Regions from separate parts of the Homo sapiens genome. Here region 2 is linked to region 1. Evidence: promoter capture Hi-C in human tissues and cell types (Jung and others, 2019). All regions are on one chromosome and are shown on one strand. Each heading gives the region's core, a stretch centred on a gene start or on the middle of the fragment in contact. The rest is flanking DNA. Distances are from core to core; before and after follow the strand shown. Region 1 holds the start of UMOD (uromodulin). Region 2 has its middle 78 kb from the start of GPR139.

What was found. The method cuts DNA at HindIII sites, captures the fragments that hold promoters and counts their contacts. A contact is called where the count stands out against the background at its distance.
Region 2: a contact is called between a fragment that was not itself captured here and the fragment with the promoter of UMOD in region 1, in 2 of the 25 tissues and cell types used here (small bowel and thymus).

Annotation. Positions count from the first base shown.
Region 1 is chr16:20,349,434-20,356,418 of GRCh38, reverse strand. UMOD (uromodulin) reads left to right here and starts at 3,704. Exons shown (of 11, transcript NM_003361.4): 1 at 3,704-3,730; 2 at 5,580-5,769. The coding sequence starts at 5,682. The HindIII fragment of the contact is 15,409 bases long and covers 1-6,985 here.
Region 2 is chr16:20,148,339-20,155,323 of GRCh38, reverse strand. No RefSeq gene overlaps it. Among named protein-coding and RNA genes, the nearest start is that of GPR139, 78 kb to the right of the region's middle. The HindIII fragment of the contact is 5,218 bases long and covers 1,007-6,224 here.

The DNA.
Region 1 (6,985 bases), core at 2,455-4,954:
GAATTCCCCAACAGGAGCAGGTGTTAGTATTCAGGACACGGTGTAAGGCTCACCTGCCTCGGCCTTGAGGTCATGTGGCTGCCAGTTGAAGGAGGGTTACGGGGGGCTGCCTAGACTAGATCATGTGGCATAGAGCCCCTGACAGGCCACGAGCCAGAGAATGGGTGTGCCACCTCCAGGTCCCCCAGGCGTAACTGGAGCCTCAGGAGGTGTGTGCTCAGAGAGGTAGGTGGGACAGGTAATACCCCTCTTTTGGGGGATCTTCTCCCTTGGCTCATTTTTTGCCGCTTTCTGACACACACCAACCTCTCATTCTAAGTTTTTGTGTTCTGTTTGATCAATTTTTCAAAACTCTCCACCCTTTAGTTTCACTCTTTCCAAAACTACCTAAAACCACTTATCCTTCTAAGACCCTGTCATGGCTGAGCATGGAATGTTCTGTAACCCAAGGAATGCAGGTAAATCTGAGTGAGATTTGAGTTTTAGTCTGGATTTAACACTCGCTAGCTGTGTAATCTTGGGGGAGTTACTCCACCTCTCTGAACTTGTCTTCTTCCCTGTGACGTGGGTTGTTGTGTTTCATTGTTTGAGACAATGGAGGCAAAAGCACTGAGCACAGTGTCTGACCCAAGAGAAGTGCTCAGTGGGTGATTGTTCTCAGCATTATTAAGATCAAGTCTCCTACCCATGTTTGAAAGTTAAGAGAGAAAAGTGTTTCAGGCTGGTTGTGGTGGCTCATGTCTGTAATCCCAGCACTTTGGGAGGCCGAGGCAGGCAGATTACCTGAGGTCAGGAGTTCGAGACCAGCCTGGCCAATGTGTACAAAAAAAACACAAATTAGCCGGGCATGGTGGTATGCACCTGTAATCCCAGCTACTCGGGAGGCTGAGGATTCAAGGATTCAAGAGAATCACTTGAACTTGGGAGGTGGAGGTTGCAGTGAGCCAAGACTGAGCCACTGCACTCCAACCTGGGTGACAGAGCAAGACTCCATTAAAAAAAAAAAAAAGAAGAAGAAAAAGAAAGAAAGAAAGAAGAGTGTTTCAAGAGCGAAGTGCTGAGAGATTAAGGTTCGTTCAAAAACAAATATTTATTGTGCACTGTCCTAGAGGTAAGATAAAGAGAAAAATATTGATTGAATTTGGTAACATGGATGTCTTTGGTGAACTTGATGAGCAACAGAGCAGGAAATTATGGCCACTGACAACTTGTTATACTCACAGATCCCAAGAGAAGGGGACACACCACACTGGGCAGAGGGGCTGAAGGGAGAGGAAGAGCTGCTGGGAAGTACCAGGGTCGGTCAGGAAGCAAAGAGAGCAAGGGAAAAGGCAGGAAAGAGCCTTTATTGTAGTTTCTGCAGGAAGGAATGGGAGAGGCAAGGTAAGCAGATTTAGGATTGGCTTAGTTTGAATAATTTCAGAGACCTCTGGGCCATAGGAGTTGTCTCTAGTTGTCTGGTACCTGGTCCCTTGGGGTGATCTAAAGCAGCAAGTAGTGACCCTAAGTGTAAAAGCCCCAAAAAGGAGGCCAAGGGTTGGGGGTATGTGGTCTGGATTGATTGATTTGCAGTCGGAAAGGCACATTCACAGATAAGTCGTTTTTGATCTCTAGTAATTATTGAGCCCTGGGAGGGGCAGTCCCTCCATGATCAGTAAGGCCCCAAAATGTACAAGCACCAAATACAGAAACTAGAAAGCATGGTGATTACACTTATGAATAGATTCCAACCCAAACTCCCCATTTTCCTGCCCAAGTCTTTGTCAAGAAAACTCCAGAAGCCACCTGGGGTCACTGTCTTTAATCCTTTGAAGACACCCATAATAAGGTTTAGACAAGGCCTCATGAAAAAGGTATAGGATAAAAACGACTAGTTCAGAAAAAAAAAAGTAAATAAATGAAGAGATAACTTCCCTTTTCATCAAAGAATTGCAAAAATGAACAATAATGAGATCGTTTCCACTTATCCTTTTGGCAAAGATGAAAGCAAGTTACCAATGCTCAGAACTGGTGAGTAGTGTTGGTGGGATTGTAAACCAATTTATAATAATTCTCTGGGGTGCTGTTTGGGAAGAGGAGTCAATATTCCTACAGCTGTGCTACCTCTTTGACCCAGAATTTCCACTCCTTGGACATAATCCTGAGGAGATGACAACACCAGTGCCAGTGGTTACCCTACCACTGAGTGGGACAGGATGGAGAAATGTCCTGAAAAGAGCAATTCACAATAGCAAAGACTTGGAACCAACTCAAATGTCCATCAATGATAGACTGGATTAAGAAAATGTGGCACATATACACCGTGGAATACTATGCAGCCATAAAAAATATGAGTTCATGTCCTTTGTAGGGACATGGATGAAGATGGAAACCATCATTCTCAGCAAACTATCGCAAGGACAAAAAACCAAACACCGCATGTTCTCACTCACAGGTGGGAATTGAACAATGAGAGCACTTGGACACAGGAAGGGGAACATCACACCCAGGGGCCTATTGTGGGATGCGGGGAGCGGGGAGGGATAGCATTAGGAGTTATACCTAATGTAAATGACAAGTTAATGGGTGCAGCACATCAACATGGCACATGTATACATATGTAACAAACCTGCACGTTGTGCACTTGTACCCTAAAACTTAAAGTATAAAAAAAAAAAAGATCAATGCAGTGATCATGGTGATATTTTCCTGCTCAGCCCAAGTTCACACATATTTTATTTTTCTCAACATGATGACAGCCACTCTCACACTGACTTTTGGAATGTCATGTATGTTGAACTGGGTCTGAAGACATGGTTTTAACTCAGGCTCTGTCATTTTCTACCTCAGTGATTGCACAACAGCAAAGCAGAATTTTCACTACTTCCATGAATATAATCATTACTATATGACTTTACTTGCATCATCTCCTTTGGTTACTATTACTACTGTGGGAGATGGGTATTCTCATTTTATAGACAAGGAAATTGACCTCTGGACCTCAGGAAGGTTAAGAAATGAGCCCACTGCCACACAATAAACACCAGATAAAGGAGGCAGACTGACTCCAAAGTCAGTCTATTTAAGTGCAAATTTATTTCGCCTCCAAAGGGACCTCCCAGTCATCAGACCTGATTCTTTGTTGTACAGAGTGGGTCAGGTCCAGTGATGTCTGAACTACCTTCTGGTTCTGACTTTCAGCCATTCTCAGCTCCTCTCTTGCTTGTGTCTGGATTCTAAGGCTGATCTCATGAGAATGGGTGTTTCAGAAGGGTGCCCTCTCCAAGACAGGTGCACCTCCCATCTGGGGCAGTGAATATCCCTTTTGTCCTTATGCAGCCTGGCTTCAGATACTGGCTTCTGCCTGGCTCCTTGATCCCACCCTGCCCTTGTCAGTGACCAAGAAGAAGCCCAGCACCTTGGCACTGCTTTCCCAGTTAATTTCTAACTATGGAATCTCTTGCTGTTAGAAGGTGCGAAACAGTGACCTTGTATTTCCGGGCACAGGTGTGACCCCCCAATGTCAATCATTTGGGGTCTCTAGCTATTAGGAAAAAGAACAACAACAACCTCACAGCTTGGACAAGGCAAACATTATGCCAGGAGGAAAAAATATTCCACCCCCAAGAAAACAATATCAAAAAACAGAACTAGAGACTAATTGGAGGAGAGATTGCCAGCCTGGGGCAAATGTGTATATATAAGTATGAGGCACATCATGACCAGACTAACTCTACCTTTCTGGCTTCAGGTAAGGCTATCTGTAGCTGTCTTCTCCTAGCCCAGCTTCTCCCCATCCTATTTGAGGGAGGTAGGAGAGGAAATTAAGACCTTGGACACTGGGGTCAGACCTGGATTTGAGTCATTATTCTGCCAATTATTGGCTTCATGATCTTTAGTAAGTTAGTTTTCCTCTCTTTGATCCTCTCTGTCCTAGTAACAATGACTACTATTTTTTGACTTATTCCATGAATATTAGTTATGCACCTATTATGTGCCAGGTACCAGGGTTACAACAATGAACAACTTGCTATGTGCTGGGCCCTGCTCGACATATGTCATCTTAGTTAATCCCAGTGACAATATGCAGTGTTTTAGGTCGCATCTTATTAGCGGGTCATAAAATCATTCCTTTTGTGGGTTATATCCAGGGACTTCTTTTAATTAAATATAATAGAATATGTCAGTAAGCAATACAAATTTGAGGCAAGCAGTTAGCCTCTTTGTCCCCCTGTTTTCTCATCTGCAAACTAGGATAATACTTATCTCATAGGGTTGTGGTAAGAATTAAATCACTTAATGTAGTAAGGATATCAATTGTCTTATAAAATTTTATGTGTGTGTGCACATACATGCAGAAGCGACTGCACTAGATCATGACATAAAATGTTTTTCTTTCTTTCTGTCTTTTTTTTTTTGGGGGGGGGGGATGGACTCTCTGTCACCCAGGCAGGAGTGCAGTGGCACGATCTCAGCTCACTGCAACCTCTGCCTCCCAGGTTCAAGCAATCCTCCTGTCTCAGCCTCCCGAGTAGCTGGGATTACAGGCGCCCACCACCATGCCCGGCTAATTTTTGTATTTTTATTAGAGATGGGGTTTCACCATGCTGGCCAGGCTGGTCTCAAACTCCTGACCTTGTGATCCACCCCCTCAGTCTCCCAAAGTGTTGGGATTACAGGCATGAGCCACTGCACCTGGCAACATAAAATGTTTTTCTTTTAGTACATCATGGTCACGAAGATCTGGAAAACGTTGCTCTAGGACCCAATGCCTTTGAGCACATGAATGTCTTTGAACTGAGCCTGGCCCATCATAGATATTCAGTTTGTGAAAGCAACAATCTCCATTTCACAGACAAAAACGGAGACTTAGTAAACTGAAATACCCACATCACAGTGTTAGTGATCAGTAAAGCAGGGATTTGAACCTCAGGTGCAGGCTGCAGCTCCTACATACTTAACCAACATGCCACCCTATTTTGCTGCTATAAACACTGGGGTAATACTGGCATCCACCCTGGACTATTTTTCCAATTGGAAGAAATAGTAAGTGACCACTCCAGAAACATTTAAATGCATTGTGAAGGTTAATTACCTCTCAAGTTGCTCGTCTCAAGCCACTTCTTTACGATATGTGAGTTGCATGAAGGAGCAGACTGCCATGTTCATTGTTCTCCATGGTGACTAGCTCCCTGTTTGGCACAATGTAGCTACTCAATAGATGTTTGTTGAATGAATAAGTGATCCAGGCAAATTGAAAGTTTCCAGGCAGAGGATCAGTTAAAATCCAAAGCTGCCTTCAGTAAAGTGGTGAGTCCAGAACACTATTCCATCTGGCTACTTCCTGCTCCAAATGACTGAGTTCTTCAAAATGTGCAATGTGCTGAGAATTGGGGAGCCAAGACTGGGATGTTGGTGAGGTAAGGAGGGGGAGTACAAGGGGTAAAGTCCCAGCAAAACAAGGGCTGCAGTGTTATGCAATTTTTTAGTCCATATAAGTGACACCTCCTGGAGTTGTATACTATACAATCAAAGCACTCCTTCCAGCTGTGGGGAGGAGAGTTAGATCATGCATTTGTCCCATCCATCTCTGTTCACAGGACACCAGACATCAGAGACAGAGAGAAAAATTCAAAGGGCCAACCCGTCTTTCCTTTGGGCAGGTGCTATCTAGACCTGAAGTAGCGGGAAGAGCAGAAAGGATGGGGCAGCCATCTCTGACTTGGATGCTGATGGTGGTGGTGGCCTCTTGGTTCATCACAACTGCAGCCACTGACACCTCAGAAGCAAGTAAGTGAAAAGTGTGTGTGCGTTGTATATGTGTGTATGCACGTGTATGTGTGAATGTGTGGGGGAAGCAATGTAGCACCTGTCAGAGGTGATCTCAATCCTCCTATCGCACTTGAGACTTGCATTGTCTTCATTCTAAGTCCATTTCTTAGACTCAATATGCACAGGACTGACTTAGAAATTTTGCTAAAGTGCATATTCTGGTTCAGCAGATCTGCAGTAGGACCTGAGATGCTGAATTTTTAACAAGCTTCCAGGCGATGCTCATACTGGGGTCCCTGGAGTACACATTGAAAAGCAAGGGGCTAGAACATCTCTAAGGCCTGCAGGCCCTTTATTGGAAGTCAGAAACATACTCTATCACATAGGAGATTTGAACCCATGCAGGAGGATCCAAACACCTTCCCTTTCAACTTTAAGAGGTCATTCCATTGGGTTGAGATTTGCTGTCACCCCACTTTCATTTTCTCCCTGGAGTACGTTGGGGCACGATGAATACTATTGCGGTGTCCTGGTTAAAAGCACATATTTTGTGGTCCTGCCATCTGCGTTTTTATCCTGGTTCTACTTCTTACCAAAGGAGTAAGGGGCTTAATCCCTCTGAACCTCAGTCTCCTCATCTTTAAAATAAGGATACATAAAAAACTGACCTCACGAGGCCCTTGGGAAGTATTCAACAAGATAGTGAGTGAAAAGTGCACATCCTATTGCCTGGCATATAGTAATTGCTTAATAAACAACAGCTTCTTTTTTTTTTTAATGGTTATTTTTATTACGGAGGAACAAAGTACAACTGCCCAGCCAGGTGGAGTTGGAGGACTCCGCAGAGAGGAGGCGACACTGAGCAGGGTCCTGATGAAGATTTCACCAGCCAGGGAAGCAGAAAACATAAAATGTGCAAAGAAAGGGAGGGGCAACAGGTTCACCGTAAATCCTACCAAAGTATAGGAATTCTGCGCATTACTTTTCTGAATGTGGCTATTTTAAAAGAAGACAGCTTGAAAGCAATGCTTAACACAAAAAATGAATGGTGGAGCTGGGCGCGATTGCACGTGCCTGTGGTCCCAACTTTTTGGGAAGCTGAGGCAGGGTGCGGTGGTGGCTTGAACTCAGGGAGTAGAACGCTTGAACCCAGGAATTGGAGGCTATGGTGAGCTATGATCGCACTACTGCACTCCAGCCTGGGCGACAGAGCAAGACCCCTCTCCAAAAAAAT
Region 2 (6,985 bases), core at 2,366-4,865, 200 kb after region 1:
TTGCCCTGTCCCTAATAGTGCTTTTTTGAAGACATAGAAAAACCCATCTTTAAACTCTTATGGACTCTCAAAGGACTCTGAATAACGAAAACAATTTTGAAAAAGAAAAAGGAACAAAATTTGGAGGATGCTCAGTTCCTGATTTCAAAACTTACTACAAAGCTACAGTAATCAAAACAGTTTGGTACTAGAATGAGAACTGACATACAGACCAATGGATAGAAGAGTCCAGAAATAAATCATCATATATATGGTCAGTTAACTTTTAAAAAGATTGCTTAGATTATTCAATGGAAAAATGATGATGCCTTCAACAAATGGTGCTGGGAAAACTGGATATCTACATGTAAAAGAATGAAGGTGGACCCTTATACCAGATCATATACCAAAAGGATATAAAACCTCATAATGAATCAAAGACCTAAATGGAAGAGCTAAAACTATAAAACTCCTAGAAGAAAACATAGGGGAAAATCTTTATGACATTAGATTGGGTAATAGTTTCTTGGATATGATGCCAATAGTGCAGGCAACAAAAGAAAAAAAAATGATAAATTGGAATTCATTAAAAGTAAAAACTTTTGTGCATCAAAGGACATTATCAAGAGAGTGAAAAGAGAACCCATGGGATGGGAGATAATATTAGTAAAACATATATCTGGTAAGGGATTAATATCTGGAATGTGTAAAGACCTCCTGCAACTCAACAACAACAACAAAAGTAGCCCAATTCAAAAACAGGCAAAATACTTGAATAGATAGTTCTCCAAATATATAGAAATGCCCAAGAAGCACATGAAAAGATGTTCAACATCATTAGCTATTAGGCAAAATGCAAATCAAACCCACAATGAGATACCACTTCACATCCATTAGGATGGCTGTTATTTTAAAAAATTGAAACCTGAAAATAACAAGTGTTGGCAAAGATGTGGAGAAATTGGAACCCTTGTGCATTGCTAGTGAGGATGTAAAAGGTGCAGCCACTATAGAACGCAGTATGGCAGTTCCTCAAAAAATTAAACATAGAATTACCACATGATTCAACAATTCCATTTCTGGGTATATACCCAAGAGAATTGAAAGCAGGGACTCAAACATATATTTGCGCACCATTGTTCATAGCAGCAGCATTCACAGTAGCCAAAAGGTGAAAACAGCACAAGTGTCTATTATTAAATGAACAAATACATAAAATATGGTATATACATATAATGGAATATTATTCAGCCCTAAAAAGGAATGAAATTCTGCCACATGCTACAACACCAATGAACTTTGAGAACATTATGCTAACTGAAATAAGCCAGCCTTTAAAAGACAAATACTGTATGATTTCATTTATATGAGGTGTCTAGAATTGCCAAATTCATAGAGACATAAAGTTGTATGGGGGTTACCAGGGGGGTAGGGTCTGGGGAAAGAATGGGGAATTTTTGTTTTATAACTACAGAGCTTCTGTTTGGAATGATCAAAAGTTCTGGATAAGTAGTGGTGATAGGTGCACAAATTATAAATGTGCCTAGTGCCAATGAAAATGACACATACTTAAAAGTGGTTAAAATGGTAACTTTTATGTTATATATATGTTTTATCACAATAAAAGATACACGCTGGTCAATCCTAAGCAGGAGAATGGATAAACAAATTGTAGTATATTCATACAATAAAATACTACTCAGCAATATTTTTTAAAGCTACTTATATGCCCAAAAACATGGCTGAATCTCAAAAACATTATATTTAGCAAGAGAAGCCTTACACAAAGGGATATATACAGATGATTCCACTTATACCAAGTTCTAGAATAGGTTACATTATTCAAAGTGAAAAATATCACAAAGTGGTTGCCTGGAAGGGGGTTGGTTTTGATTGGAAAGGGCCTGGAATTTTCTGAGGTGAAGAAAATGTACTATATTTTGGGTTTCATAGTTGTACATAATTGCCAAAATTCATTTAATTTAACACTGAAGGTTTTATCATATGTAAATTATCTCAGAGATACAGAAAATTTCTATTGGTCAAAATTTCTTTCTAGATGGACAGTACTGACTTGAGTATCCCAATGGTCCTTCTCCTTTCTCTCATCTCCATGGCTGCACAATCTCCTGCCTGTCTCTTTTTGACTGACACTTTCCTTATTTGACTCTGCTAATATATTAAATCAGGTTACATTAACATTTTACAGGCTTGATACATATTCAGTCTTCTTAAGGTGATTTTTCACGTCACCTTCCTGACTCTTTATGAGGTTGTATGACTTCTTCACATAACCTCCCAAAGCCAACCCTACTATAATGATCAAGTTTTTAGCATATACTTCACGATAGCTCCAACGCTAAAATATGACATTACTTTCAGTAGATGAGCCCTAGAACTAAACAAGATGGTCCAATATTTTAGTTTACAGTCAGATAACATGTTTAAGTTGAACTATATGAAATTGCCAATGTTTCCCTTATTTTCAACAGTTACATATGACAATTACATATGCCTCAAACGGTAAAGTTTTGTTTTTGTTTTTGTTTTTGTTTTTGTTTTTTGAGACAGTCTCGTCCTGTCGCCCACGCTGGAGTGCAATGGCATGATCTCAGCTGGCTGCAACCTCTGCCTCCTGGGTTCAAACGATTATCCTGCCTCAGCCTCCAGAGTAGCTGGAGGTGGTGGCACCCGCCACCACACCCAGCTAATTTTTGTATTTTTAGTAGAGACGGGGTTTCACCATGTTGGCCAGGCTAGTCTCGAACTCCTGACCTTGTGACCCTCCTGCCTCGGCCTTCCAAAGTGCTGAGATTACAGGCGTGAACCACTGCGACTGGGCATAAAGTTTTAAAAATTGCATAATCTCACATTTTTCTCAACATCCTTAACAGGTAATCCAACGTAAGATGACTATTTCTTTTAAAATTAGAAAAATTTAATAAATAAGCACAAATGATTAGTTGAATGATTTTAAAAAGAGCTGTCATATAAGTAGTTAGATAATTAAGTTAATTAAATTTAAAGATAATAATTAAATAATTGTTTTAAAAGATTAGTCAAGTATGTAAAAGATATTAACTAAATATTGTTTATATATATATGCTCATGGTGACCCAATATTTTGCTGGAGGTCATCTTGCAACAACAGAGATTAACCTCTGTGTCTCATTCATTGTTACATTCTTAGCACCCAGCAGAGTGCCTGAAATACAGCAGATGCTCAAGAAATATCTGCTAAAATGAAGAAATAAGAAGGACTTTTTGTCAGATGAACGATTACAACCCCAAAACATATATCCCAACATCTTTTGCCTATAAAGGAAGCCCCAAGATAATTTTCATTGCATTTTTCCCATGTTCACATTACAGCCAAATCAACTTTCTTGTTTCTAAGACATACAGTGCCCAAATCAAAGAGAAAAGGTATATCAAAAATCCAAATTTTTCTAAATCATGTCTTCTATGTGACTAGAATAAAAAACAACATAGAGGATTTCAGGTTTGACAATAACAGAAACTTCCAGAAGAGACAGTAGAATGCAACGAGAATATAACTCCTGCCATGGAATATTTAATTTGCTGGAAGCAATATGGCAATCTGTTAGGAGCATGATGCCTATAAATTGGATGGTCCTGTGTTCAAAGGTCAGTTTTTCTCTTTTTTAGACATGACCTTGAGCAAGTTCTTTCACCTCCCTGAGCCCCTATTGCTCATCTGTAAAATGGGGATGATAATTGTTCATTCATTCATTCACCTATTAAATATGTATTGAACACCTACCATACGCCAGGCCTGGAAATGGGCTATGGGACACAACAATGAGCAAAATAGACCAAAAGGCCTGCCCTCATGGAGTTTACAATCCAGAGAGAATGACATGCAAAACATCAAGTAAGTAAAATATACAGTGCGTTTGAAGATGAGCTGAATTTTCAGGAGACTGAAATTCGGCATGAGTTGGTAGGGCAAAAACCAATGGGCTTTGAGTAATTATTGGTAATGGGATGAATTACTTGTACCAATGAGCAGCTTAGAGCAATCACTTAAATAGATTTAAGAGAATCATCACTAGCTAGATAGGCACATGCTTGAATAGATTAGTGATAGACAAACAGAGCAACAGATGGATGAATTAGAGAGTCAAGCAGACAGACCTAAGTAGATTGACACAAATGGTATCTCAAGGTGCCCTGACAACAGCATCTGCTGCTAGAATGACTGACTTTTGATCTTGCACATCTGGCTAGCAAGATAGGCATTAGTGTCTCCCTCACTGGACTACAGGCATCCTTGCAAAATCCTCTCCATCTTTGAAGGTGAGTTGGAAGACCTGGTCTTCCCTTAGGAGAGGACCTATGTAAATCTGTGCCAGGCCTCTTCTCCAAATCTTCCAAAAAATCAATAGGCTCTTTCAAGCAGAGGGTAGAGATGATGCCAAGGGAAAGTCTCTGTAGCAGGAGAAGCGAACAGTCCCAAGAGATAGAAACTAGACACCAGAGAGATGAAGAGAGAATGTATTCAACAAGGAGATGGATGTCAGAAGGTGTCAAGTTTTATTTCAGTAAGACCAGTGGCCCGTCCTTCATCATTTCTCATTTCAGATAATTCAGTGTGGATTGAGTACTGAAAGCTATTGGAGAATTATCGTTGGTCTTCTGGGTGTGATAATGGCAATGCAGCACTGTAGAGAGAGAGAGAAAGAAAAAAAAAAAAGTCTTTCTCCTTTATGTCTGCAGTAGAATAATATGATGTCTGGGATTTACTTTGGCAAACTCCAGCCAGAAAAATAAAAGAAAGAAAGTCGGGGGTTTTGATGAAACAAGCTTGGCAACATTTTTATGATTGTTGGAGTTGTGTTGGGTGCACAAGAGTTCATTAGATACTTCTCTCCACTACTGAGTGTGCTGGAAAATTTTCATAGTAAAAAGTTATGATTTTCCCATTTATTTTCAGAAGGGAAAAAATACACATAAGCACACATATATACACTTGGAGCATTTTTCCAGCTTTAGGGATTAATTCTTTTTGGCAGACGAAAGTCATTCTGTTAAATGATTTATGATATTTAAAGAGCAATTTGGTTCCATTTAATTGCTACCTTAAATTAACTGTTGCCTGAGCCTAGAGAAATGATTGCTACGGCCAGAGTGGAGGAAGAGGTGACAGTGAGCTTCAAGTGGTATTGAGTGATTTCAAGTGTGACCAGCGACTTAGATGAAAGGATGCAGAGTTCCCACGTAAAGGGCAATGCTCTCTAAAAATCACTGCTCTCAACAATCTTCCACCATCTGAGAAGGTTATTTGAATTCCTTCCCAACTGTTCCCAAACAGAGCATTTTGTAATGCAGAGGAATTTTAAAATAATTGAACCCAGACTTATAAATGCCTTCAACATCCAGTCACTACATATTTGTTCAGTATCTACTCTATCACTGGCACTGTGCCAGGCCTAAGGGCTATATGGTAGTAGACAACCTAGAGAAGAGCATTGCTTTTTTTTTTTTTTGAGGTGGAGTCTCACTCTGTCACCCAGGCTGGAGTGCAGTTGCGCAATCTTGGCTCACTGCAAGCTCTGCCCCCCTCAGGTTCAAGTGATTCTCCTGCCTCAGCCTCCCAAGTAGCTGGGATTACAGGCATCTGTCACCACACCCGGCTAATTTTTGTATTTTTAGTAGAGACAGGGTTTCACCATCTTAGCCAGGCTGGTCTTGAACTCCTGACCACGTGATCCACCCGCCTCAGCCTCCCAAAAGTGCTGAGATTACAGGCATGAGCCACCGTGCCTGGCTGAGGATTACTTTCATGAGACTTACGGTCTAGCTGGAAACACAGGCATCCTCAACATATAAGCACATATTAAAGCAATTAACAACCTTCTGATAAGTGGGATTTTTTTTTTTTTTTTTTGCTCTTGTTGCCCAGGCTGGAGTGTGATGGCGTGATCTTCGCTCACTGCACCCTCCACCTCCCAGGTTCAAGTGATTCTCCTGTCTCAGCCTCCTGAGTAGCTGGGTTTACAGGCATGCGCCACCACGCCTGGCTAATTTTGTATTTTTAGCAGAGATGGGGTTTCACCATGTTGGTCAGGCTGGTCTCGAACTCCTGACCTCAGGTGATCCACCTGCCTCAGCCTCCCAGAGTGCTGGGATTACAGGCATGAGCCTGTAGGAACTTTTATAGACCACAGTAAGGATGTGCTGGACATTGGTATAAATGTTCCACAAGTAGTCACTCATTTAATCCTTCCAACAACTCATACGCCTTCTACAGGTAAAGAAACTGAGGCACAGAGAGGATAAGTAACTTGTTCAAGATTATCAGTTATTAACCAGTGGAGCCATGATTAGAACCCCAGATTTGCTGCAGAGCCTCACCTCCTAACCACTCTGCTGTCCAGCCTCTCAAATCAAGGCCACTATTACATATTTTTGGAGTATCTACCATATGCCAAGCTCTATTCTCAGCCCTGGGATAAAGCAGATAATAAAGTCCCTGCTCTCATGGAGCTTTTTGGGGGAGAGGGACAATTAGAAACATCTAAATATATAATATGCCAGAAGGCTATAAGTGTCATGTAGGACAATAATCAATGGAAAAAATAGAAAATGACAGAGGGTCTCAGATGGCAACAGCATGAAGTTCTTGTAAGTTCAAGGACTCTCCAAGAAGGCACTGAGATTGGAGGAGTGAGGTGGGCATGTTAGGAAGTGATGTCAGAAATCAGATGATGCACATACAGCCTTGAAGTTCAATTTAGGAACTTCAGATTCCACTGTGAATAGATCAGGAACCCTCAGGGTCATGAGCTGAGGAGATAGGATACACCTCTTTTTCTTTTCTTTTTTTTTAGACAGAGTCTTGCTCTGTCACCCAGACTGGAGTGCAGCAGCATGATCTCAGTCCACTGCAACTTCTGCCTCCTGGGTTCAAGCGGTTTTTGTGTCTCAGCCTTCCAAATAACTGGGATTACAGGCATGTGCAACCATGCCAGGCTAATTTTTG